Regions from separate parts of the Homo sapiens genome. Here region 2 is linked to region 1. Evidence: promoter capture Hi-C in human tissues and cell types (Jung and others, 2019). All regions are on one chromosome and are shown on one strand. Each heading gives the region's core, a stretch centred on a gene start or on the middle of the fragment in contact. The rest is flanking DNA. Distances are from core to core; before and after follow the strand shown. Region 1 holds the start of RANBP3 (RAN binding protein 3). Region 2 overlaps LOC124904625 (a long non-coding RNA gene).

What was found. Contacts are between HindIII fragments. The study calls those that stand out against the background at their distance.
Region 2: a fragment that was not itself captured here is called in contact with the fragment with the promoter of RANBP3 in region 1 in 1 of the 25 tissues and cell types used here (dorsolateral prefrontal cortex).

Annotation. Positions count from the first base shown.
Region 1 is chr19:5,975,789-5,980,126 of GRCh38, reverse strand. It overlaps RANBP3 (RAN binding protein 3), which reads left to right and starts at 1,987. Exons shown (of 17, transcript NM_007322.3): 1 at 1,987-2,066. The coding sequence starts at 2,045. It overlaps RANBP3-DT (RANBP3 divergent transcript), which reads right to left and starts at 1,724. Exons shown (of 4, transcript NR_046376.1): 1 at 1,613-1,724. RefSeq lists silencers at 1,594-1,643, 1,694-1,863, 2,094-2,203. The HindIII fragment of the contact is 11,015 bases long and covers 1-4,338 here.
Region 2 is chr19:7,093,084-7,097,421 of GRCh38, reverse strand. The region is part of intron 1 of LOC124904625 (a long non-coding RNA gene); the gene reads left to right. Among named protein-coding and RNA genes, the nearest start is that of ZNF557, 26 kb to the right of the region's middle. The HindIII fragment of the contact is 4,002 bases long and covers 1-3,914 here.

The sequences.
Region 1 (4,338 bases), core at 738-3,237:
ACAAAAACTAGCTGGGTATAGTAGTACACAGCTGTAATGCCAGCTACTCAGAAGGCTGAGGCAGGAGAATCACTTCAACCCGGGAGGCGGAGGTTGTAGTGAGTCGAAATTGTACCACTGCACTCCAGCGTGGGCAACAGAGTTAGATTCCAAAATAAATAAAAGAAAGGGAAGGGAAGGAAAGGGAGGGAGGGAACAAGGGGAGGGAGGGAGGAACCATTTTTAGCTCATAGACTATATCTGGCCCACAGATTGTAGTACTCCTCGCTCTCTTTTAGATCATACTCAAAAAGGTGCAGAGCTGGGACTCCAACCTAGGTAAGACCTGAAACACAAGGTCCCAGGCAGAGAGACGACCAAGTGCAAAGACCCTTAGGTTGGAATGAGCTTGTGCTCCAAGGATGGAAAGACCCACGCGGCTGAACAGCAATGAGCAAGGGGGAACAAAGCAGGGCATGGGAGCCAAGTTCAGGGGACTTCATAAACCTGAATACAAGGTTTAGGATATTCCAAGTTCAGCTGAGAGCCCTCTGGAAGCACTGAGTGGCCTTGATATTTCCATTTTCAGTCTATGTGTATATATATATATATACACACACACACATATATATGCACACGTGTATGTATATATCTGTGTGTATATATATAGATAAAAACAAAGTATATATGTGTATATATATGGGGGAGGTTCTTGCTGTGTCCCTAGGATGGTGGCAGTGGCACTGTCACAGCTCACTGCAGCCTCAACCTCCTGGGCTCAAGTGATCCTCCTGCCTCAGCCTCCCAAGTAGCTGGGACCACAGGCTTGCACCACCACATCCGGGTAATTTTTGTGTTTTTGTAGAGATGGGGTCTTGCTCTGTTGCCTAGGCTGGTTTTGAACTGAGCTCAAGCGATCCTCCCACCTTGGCCTCCCGCAGTGCTGGGATTCCAGGGGTGAGCTACCGCGTCTGGCTGATTATATTTTTCAAAGACTCCTCAGCCTGCGGCCATGTGCAGAACCAAGCCTGGGGCTTCAAAAGAATGCAGCAAAGGATAGCAGAGAGGCCGCTGTCCAAGTCTTCCATGAGATAGATACGGACGATGTGGCCTAGGGTGGTGACAGCCTGGGGGTGACAATGGGTGGCTCTGGGCTGTATTTTGGAGGCAAGGCCAAGTCCGAAGGATTTGCTGAGAGATTCATAGCAGGTGAGTAGAGAACAACTCCAGGGTGTCCAGGACCCTCCCATGAGCCTTGTGAGTGAGGCTGATGGTCCCATTTTACAGATGGGTAACCTGGAGGCGCGCGGTTCCCCTCCCATGAGCTTGTGAAGTTGATTCTCGTAGCTCCGAGGGGTCGAGTCCCTCGCGCCGGCTCCCCCCGCCCCCAACGCCAGCACCTGGGTCCCAGGGCTGCGCCCCCTCCTAGAGCCTGACCACGACCCCCGCCCCCGCCGATGAGCTCTGATTTACCCCCCAATCCCAAGCACCCCGCGCCCTCTCGCCACTTCCCCCGTGGTTTCAGGAAAGCGTTTGCCGAAGGTACCGGCTCCTAAGGCGGGTAAACTGAGGTAGGAGGCAACGCGTCTCCCGCCCGCGCGTGTGGGAAGCCCCCGCAGGCCCGGCGATTTACCTGGAGGAAGGCCTCGGCTGCGGCGCCCTGAACTGCTCACTGTCCCACCGCGGGGGAACCCCGGAAAACGAGTGGGAAAACGAGTGCTTCAAGACCCGCCTCGGGCCGCGCGGTGCCGCCTCACTAAACCTTAGTCGCTGCCACTGCGCATGCGCCCTTCCCGGCCCTTTCCCCGCCCTCTCAGTCGGCGGGAAAAGGAGGCGGGAGATGGCTCGTGCGCAGGTGCGTGCTAGGAGCGCGGCTCGTCAGGGCAGGCTGCTCTGCAGGGCAGGCGATCCGGGGCTCGCCTCCGCGCGGCATTCAGCGCGCAGGCGCGAGCTGGCCGCCTCACACGGAGTCGGCTTGTTAAGTGCGCACGCGCGGGAGTTTCTGGCAGAAAGCAGGCGAGCCTGGGCCGGCGCGGGGCCTTGTGGGAGGGCTTAAGGAAGTAAAATGGCGGACCTGGCGAACGAAGGTAGGGGAGGCGCCGTTGGGGACCGGCTGGCGGCCGGGGAACGGGCGGCGGGAGGACTAGGGGCCACAAGCCCTTGGGGGGAGCACCGCAGAGTGCAAGGGTTTCGTCCGCTCCAGGCTAGCGCCGTGGCGGGCCTTGCAGCCGCCCCCTATTGCGTCCCCTCAGGCCGGGCTCACCGGCCCGGCCCATCACTCCCGGCAACCCCAGCCACTGCAGCCGTCTGGCTAGAGGAGCCGGGTGGCCATCGGGATCGCAGCCCTAAGGCCCCTCTGCGTCGCAGCCAAGCTCGGGGCTGAAGGGGGCGGGAGGCGCGGCCCCAGTGCTTCGGCCACGGATGTAAATAGACCTTAGGGCCTGGTTGTGGCCCGGAGCGCGCCACGCTCCCTCCCCGCCCCCTCGTCCTCCGCCACCCGGCATCTCCCCTTCCCCGGCCTGGCTGCCTATCTCCTAAGCCCGTGAGGCCCTCGTCCTCCGCGGGCCAGCCGCACACCGCGGACGGAGGAAGCCCAGGCCGTTTTCACCCCGTCCCCGCCCCGAACTTCGGCCCCCACTTCCCGCCAGTTCCCCCCGGATCCTTCGGGGCGCTTCGTCTCCCCCTCATTTAGGCCCCGCCGCAGGATCTGGGCCGCCGAAAACCCTGGCTGCTCTTTGGCCCTTTTTGCTGCACTTCCAGACAAGAGACCGTGCGAGTCCCTCCTCTGTGGAGCGCTGACAGCCCACCTGAGTGTTTTTGACAAGGTTACACTTCCAGATCCCCCGAGAAGGCACCATAAGGCTGATGTCTGCTTCCATCCATAGTCGTGTTGCCATCGCTGTAGCTTCAAGACTTCTGAGGCCTATTTTTAGCTCCCCCCCTTTTCTAGTTGCACAAATGCAGGCAAGCTCTCTACCTGTCTGGCTCTGATTCCCCCATTCGGTGCTCCCTGTGACTGGAGGGTTTTCCCTACCGAATTGCAGTAATGAATGAATGATGATAGGAAGTGCTTGGTCTTGTGGAGCATTTAGGGTAGTTACCAGGTGTGGTGCAAAGTCTTGACATACTGTTTTCCCTGGTAGGAGGTATAGATACTGTTAGCCCCATTCACTTGATGAGGAGACTGAGTCAACGTGGTTAAGTCGCTTATCCAAGGCGTGTCACACAGCTGGGAAGGAGCAGGGATGTGAACCAAGATGGCCTGGCTTCAGATGCCAGACCACGGGTGCTCAGTCCCTGCAGATTCTGATTCTGTGTGGTGTTGGGCGGGCGCTGGGCATCTGTACAGGCAGCAGCACAGGTTCTCTCCCTGATTCTTGGCCATTTTATTCTATTTTATTTTTTGGGACGGAGTCTAGCTCTGTAGCCAGGCTGGAGTGCAGTGGCGCCATCTCGGCTCACTGCAATCTCCGCCTCCCGGGTTCAGGTGATTCTCCTGCCTCAGCCTCCCGAGTAGCTGGGATTACAGGCGCGCACCACCACACCCAGCTAATTTTTGTGTTTTTAGTACAGACGGGGTTTCACCATGTTGGCCAGGATGGTCTCCATCTCCTGACCTCGTGATCTGCCCGCCTCGGCCTCCCAAAGTGCTGGGATTACAGGCGTGAGCCACCGCACCCGGCTGCTACATCTCTTTTTTTAAGATAAAGGAGCCCATGGAGGGTTGCAGCATTCCAACTCATGAGATCTAGTTACAGAGGGACTGGGTAAGTGGGAATCAGTATGACATATTTTATGTATTTACATCCTGAGCCCACATAGCTTCTTGAACTCAGGACTCATGTCCAGCATCACATTTCGACATCTCCATTTGGATGTGTCATAGGTAAGTCTAGAGCGTTTCCAAAACAAAATCCTTATCTCCCCCACTACACCTGCCCATCCCATGGTCTTTCACCCATTGTAGTTAGTTAGGCAGGTCCATTCTTTGAATTCTTCTGGCCCCAAACCTTGAAGTCACCCCTGGTTTCCCTCTTTCTCATACTGCACAGCAAATACTATCATTTCTACCTTAAAATTATTCCCAAAGGGGGACCACCACTTCTCCCCACCAACACCGTCAATGCTTAGCCCCCGTTCCCTCCACCCTTACCCATCTGAGAACTTCTCAGCCCATAGTGGGCCCCAATATGTCCCTGTCCTTCTCTCTCGCCACTCTCTGCTGCCTTGCTCTGTGCTAACTACTCTGGCTTTTTCAGTTTTCCTTGAATGTTGCATACACTCCCCGCTTTTAGCCTTTTCTCCTGCTGATTCCTCTAACTGAAACAGTTTTCCCCCAGATACCCCCATGGCTCACTT
Region 2 (4,338 bases), core at 664-3,163, 1.1 Mb before region 1:
ATGCTTCTATTAACTCTTACTTTGGGATAATGGGAAGAGAGATAGTTTTCTGGGGTATGAGTTTGTCACTTATGTTGTAGAATCTGGGGGGCTGCCTGTTGAGATTCTGACCATTGCTTGTTTTGGGTGTCATTGCTGGGGATACTTATTTATAGTCTTGGGAAGACAAGGGATGCATGTTGCAGCGGTAGTGGGTAAGAATGGTGGCATTTGCTGGAGTTCTTTTTTTTTTTTTTTTTTTTTTTGAGACAGAATCTTGCTCTGTCTCCCAGGCTTGAGCGCAGTGGTGTGATCTTGGCTCACTGCAAACTCTGCCTCCCGGGTTCAAGAGATTCTCCTGCCTCAGTCTCCTGAGTAGCTAGGACTACAGGCACGTGTCACCACGCCCGGCTAATTTTTGTATTTTTAGTAGAGACGGTTTCACCATATTGGTCAGGCTGGTCTCGAACTCCTGATCTCGTGATCCACCCGCCTTGGCCTCCCAAAGTGCTGGGATTACAGGCGTGAGCCACCATACCCAGCCTGGAGTTCCTTTCTTGAGTGTGTAGAGGATTGAGGGTTGATTGGTTTTTGGAGTTTCCATCATTAATGTAGGAGCGATACGGGGAATCACTTGGCGAAGCTTTCATTGTCTCTGATGTTGGAGGTAACTGGAGGGCCAGTGCCTGGGGCTTCCATTTTTTTCTAGTGTTGAAGGGTCAAGAGCATTTATCAGATAGAGGCCTTACTGTGTATTGTTTGGGGAGAGGATGGAGGGATTATTGGATGGGGTTCCACTTATCTCTAGTTGGGGAGGGTCATATTCTGGGTCTCCGCTTGCCTGTACTGTTGGTATAGACTGGGTAGGCCATTGGGCTTGGAGTCCCCATTCTTTAGTGTTGAGGGGCATCTGAAGGGGTCATTTCAGGGACTTCTGTTATAGTTTTGGACGTGACTGAGGGGTGCTTGCTGGAGTAGTTTCGCGATGACGGAGGTCTTCATGTTTGGACTCCATCTTTTGTGTTTGTAAGTGATTGAGGGGTGGAGATCTGGCATCCTGTTGCCTCTTGTTTTGAGGGTGACTGGTGGTTACCTGCTAGGGCTTCTGTCAGCTCTACTGCTGTATGCAGATTGTGAGAATCACTTGCTGGGGCTTCCATAATCTCTAGTCTTAGGGGGACTGGGAAATGGCTTGCCATGCTTTCTATTATCTCTAGTTTTAAGGGACCAGTTCAATGTGATTTAAAACTCTTTTTATTTGAAAAAAAAAAAAAATTAGGGCTGGGCACGTTGGCTCACGCCTATAATCCTAACACTTTTGGGAGGCCAAGGCAGATGGATCACTTGAGGTCAGGAGTTTGAGACCAGCCTGGTCACCATGGCGAAACCCCATCTCTACTAAAAATACAAAAATTAGCTGGGCGTGGTGGTGCACACCTGTAGTTGCAGCTACTTGGAGGCTGAGGCAAGAGAATTGCTTGAACCCAGGAGGCGGAAGTTGCAGTGAGGTGAGTGTGGGCAACAGAGTGAGACTCCGTCTGAAAAAAAAAAAAAGATTTAGACGTATAAAAGTGTTAAAACTATACAGGCTTGATTTATACAGTCAATATTTATTTGTATTTGCTCACATTTTATCTTTCCTGATTATCCTTATATATTTCTGGAATTGCTTCCACATGGAATAATTTTCCTCCAGCCCCAAAACTTTCCTTCTTTCTTTCCTTCTCCTTCCTTCCTTCCTTCCTTCCCTCCCTCCCTCCTTCCTTCTTTTTTTTTTTTGAGACAGAGTCTCGCTCCATCGCCCAGGCTGGAAAGCAACGGTGCGATCTCAGCTCACTGCAACCTCCACCTCCTGGGTTCAAGCAATTCTCCTGCCTCAGCCTCCCAAGTAGCTGGGATTATAGGCGACCGCCACTACGCCCAGCTAATTTTTTTTTTTTTTTGTAGTTTTAGCAGAGATGGGGTTTTGCCATGTTGGCCAGCCTTGTCTCGAACTCCTGACCTCAGGTGATCCACCTGCCTCAGCCTCCCAAAATGCTGGGATTACAGGTGTGAGCCACCGTGTCTGGCCCAAAACTTTCTTTAGTGTTTCTTGAAGTGCAGTTCTGCTGGTGATGAACTATGTTGTTGCTGAAACACCAGGGGTTCAATCTAGGTCCTGCTGCTCACCACTGCACAGAAAGCCTATCGCTGAGACAATGAGTATTGCCAAGGAAGAAGGCTTTAATCAGCTGCTGCAGCTGAGGAGGTGGGAGAACAATCTCAAATCCATCTCCCTGACCAACTAAAATTTGAGGTTTATATAGCAGGGAAGAAATGTTACCATGTGTGGGAATACAGGAATTAGGGAAGGGTAAGGAAGAGGAGTTGGTCAACAGGAAGCAGGTGGTCAGTTAGGCAATCATGATGGGTGATGGGTCTGATGTCTCACTGTACAAATGCAGTATTCTGGTGCGTTTCAGCTCCTAGATACTATCTGGGAGGCCTGATGGTTGGTTTCCTGAGAAAGGAACTCAGATAAGATAAATGTAACTTTCTTAAGTTTTAAGATTGGGAAGATCAATTTGTTTGTTTATTCAAGGAAACCATAAACATCAGCAATATGGGAAAATTGGGCCAGTTTCACTTTCAGGTATTTAAAAGAAAAATCTATTGGATTTTGGATATCAATTCTTGTCCTTCACTTGGCGCTAAGTTCATGTCCCTACATAAGATACAAAGGGGGCCGGGCGCGGTGGCTCCCGCCTGTAATCCTAGCACTTTGGGAGGCCGAGGTGGGCGGATCACAAGGTCAAGAATTCAAGACCAGCCTGGCCAACATAGTGAAACCCCATCTCTACTAAAAATACAAAAATTAGCCGGGTGTGCTGGCGTGTGCCTGTAGTCCCAGCTACTCGGGAGGCTGAAGCAGGAGAGTCGCTTGAATCCAGGAGGCGGAGGTTGTAGTGAGCAGAGATGGCACCATTGCACTCCAGCCTGTGTGACAGAGTGAGACTCCATCTCAAAAAAAAAAAAAAAAAAAAAGAGATACAAAGGAAGCTACTGTTGGGATAATGTCATTTGGTCGTATTCCCATCAGAAACCTTAAGCTTTGGCCACAACCAGGACTCTTCATATAAAATGGTGATGGTGGTGGTGGGGAACCAGGGAAAAAGCGGAAAAAATTAAAGATTTTTTAAAAAACCCAAACCCAAAGCATAGCTGTCTTCTATTCCTGCTTTGGGACCTGGTCTTCAGGACTGAATTTAATTCTTCCACATCCATTCCACATTCTGCTTTCTCTCTGCCAGTCCCTTATCTGAATGGATTTTTATTTTTATTTTTTTTTGGGATGGAGTCTCACTCTGTCGCCCAGGCTGGAGTGCAGCGGCGCGATCTCGGCTCACTGAAAGCTCTGCCTCCCGGGTTCACGCCATTCTCCTGCCTCAGCCTCCTGAGTAGCTGGGACTACAGGCGCCCGCCACCACGCCCGGCTAATTTTTTGTATTTTTAGTACAGACAGGGTTTCACTGTGTTAGCCAGGATGGTCTCGATCTCCTGAGACCGGCCCTGAATGGATTCTTTACCCTGATAGAGTGATCTTATCTCGGATCAGGTTTTCTGGGAACAGATTTTGTGCTGGCAATTTTTTGTTTATTGGATAAAACTCCTGGGAACAACATCTTTAAAGGCATGCGAGAAGCGGAGGGGACAGATGAGGCTGACATGTAACTTGTCAACTGAGGCTGCCGTCGATCCCACAGGGAGTTCTGGTGCTGGGGTTGCCCTTCAGGGGTGTCCTACATTGAAACAAAGGCACTGGACCTTTGTACCCCCTACATCAACCAGTCACTGGAAGTAGGCAACCCCTGGAGAGAGAGCATAATCTTGGGTTGGGCACTTTCCTCTGGGCCTTGGGGAGTTCCCAGAGAGGACAGCAGCATCACCATCATCAGGCAACACCTCCAGCAGCTAGGGGAGTGCCTTAGTCTTTTCTTTTTTCTAGATGGAGTCTTGCTTTGTCACCAGGCTGGCGTGCAGTGGCAAGATCTTGGCTCACTGCAACCTCCGCCTCCCAGGTTCAAGCGATTCTCCAGCCTCAGCCTCCTGAGTAGCTGGGACTACAGGCACACGCCACCACGCCCAGCTAATTTTTTTTTTTTTTTTTGAGATGGAGTCTTTGTCGCCCAGGCTGGAGTGCAGTGGCGCCATCTCGGCTCACTGCAAGCTCCGCCTTCCAGGTTCACGCCACTCTCCTGCCTCAGCCTCTCGAGTAGCTGGGACTACAGGTGCCCGCCACCATGCCTGGCTAATTTTTTGTATTTTTAGTAGAGATGGGGTTTCACCGTGTTAGCCAGGATGGTCTCTATCTCCTGACCT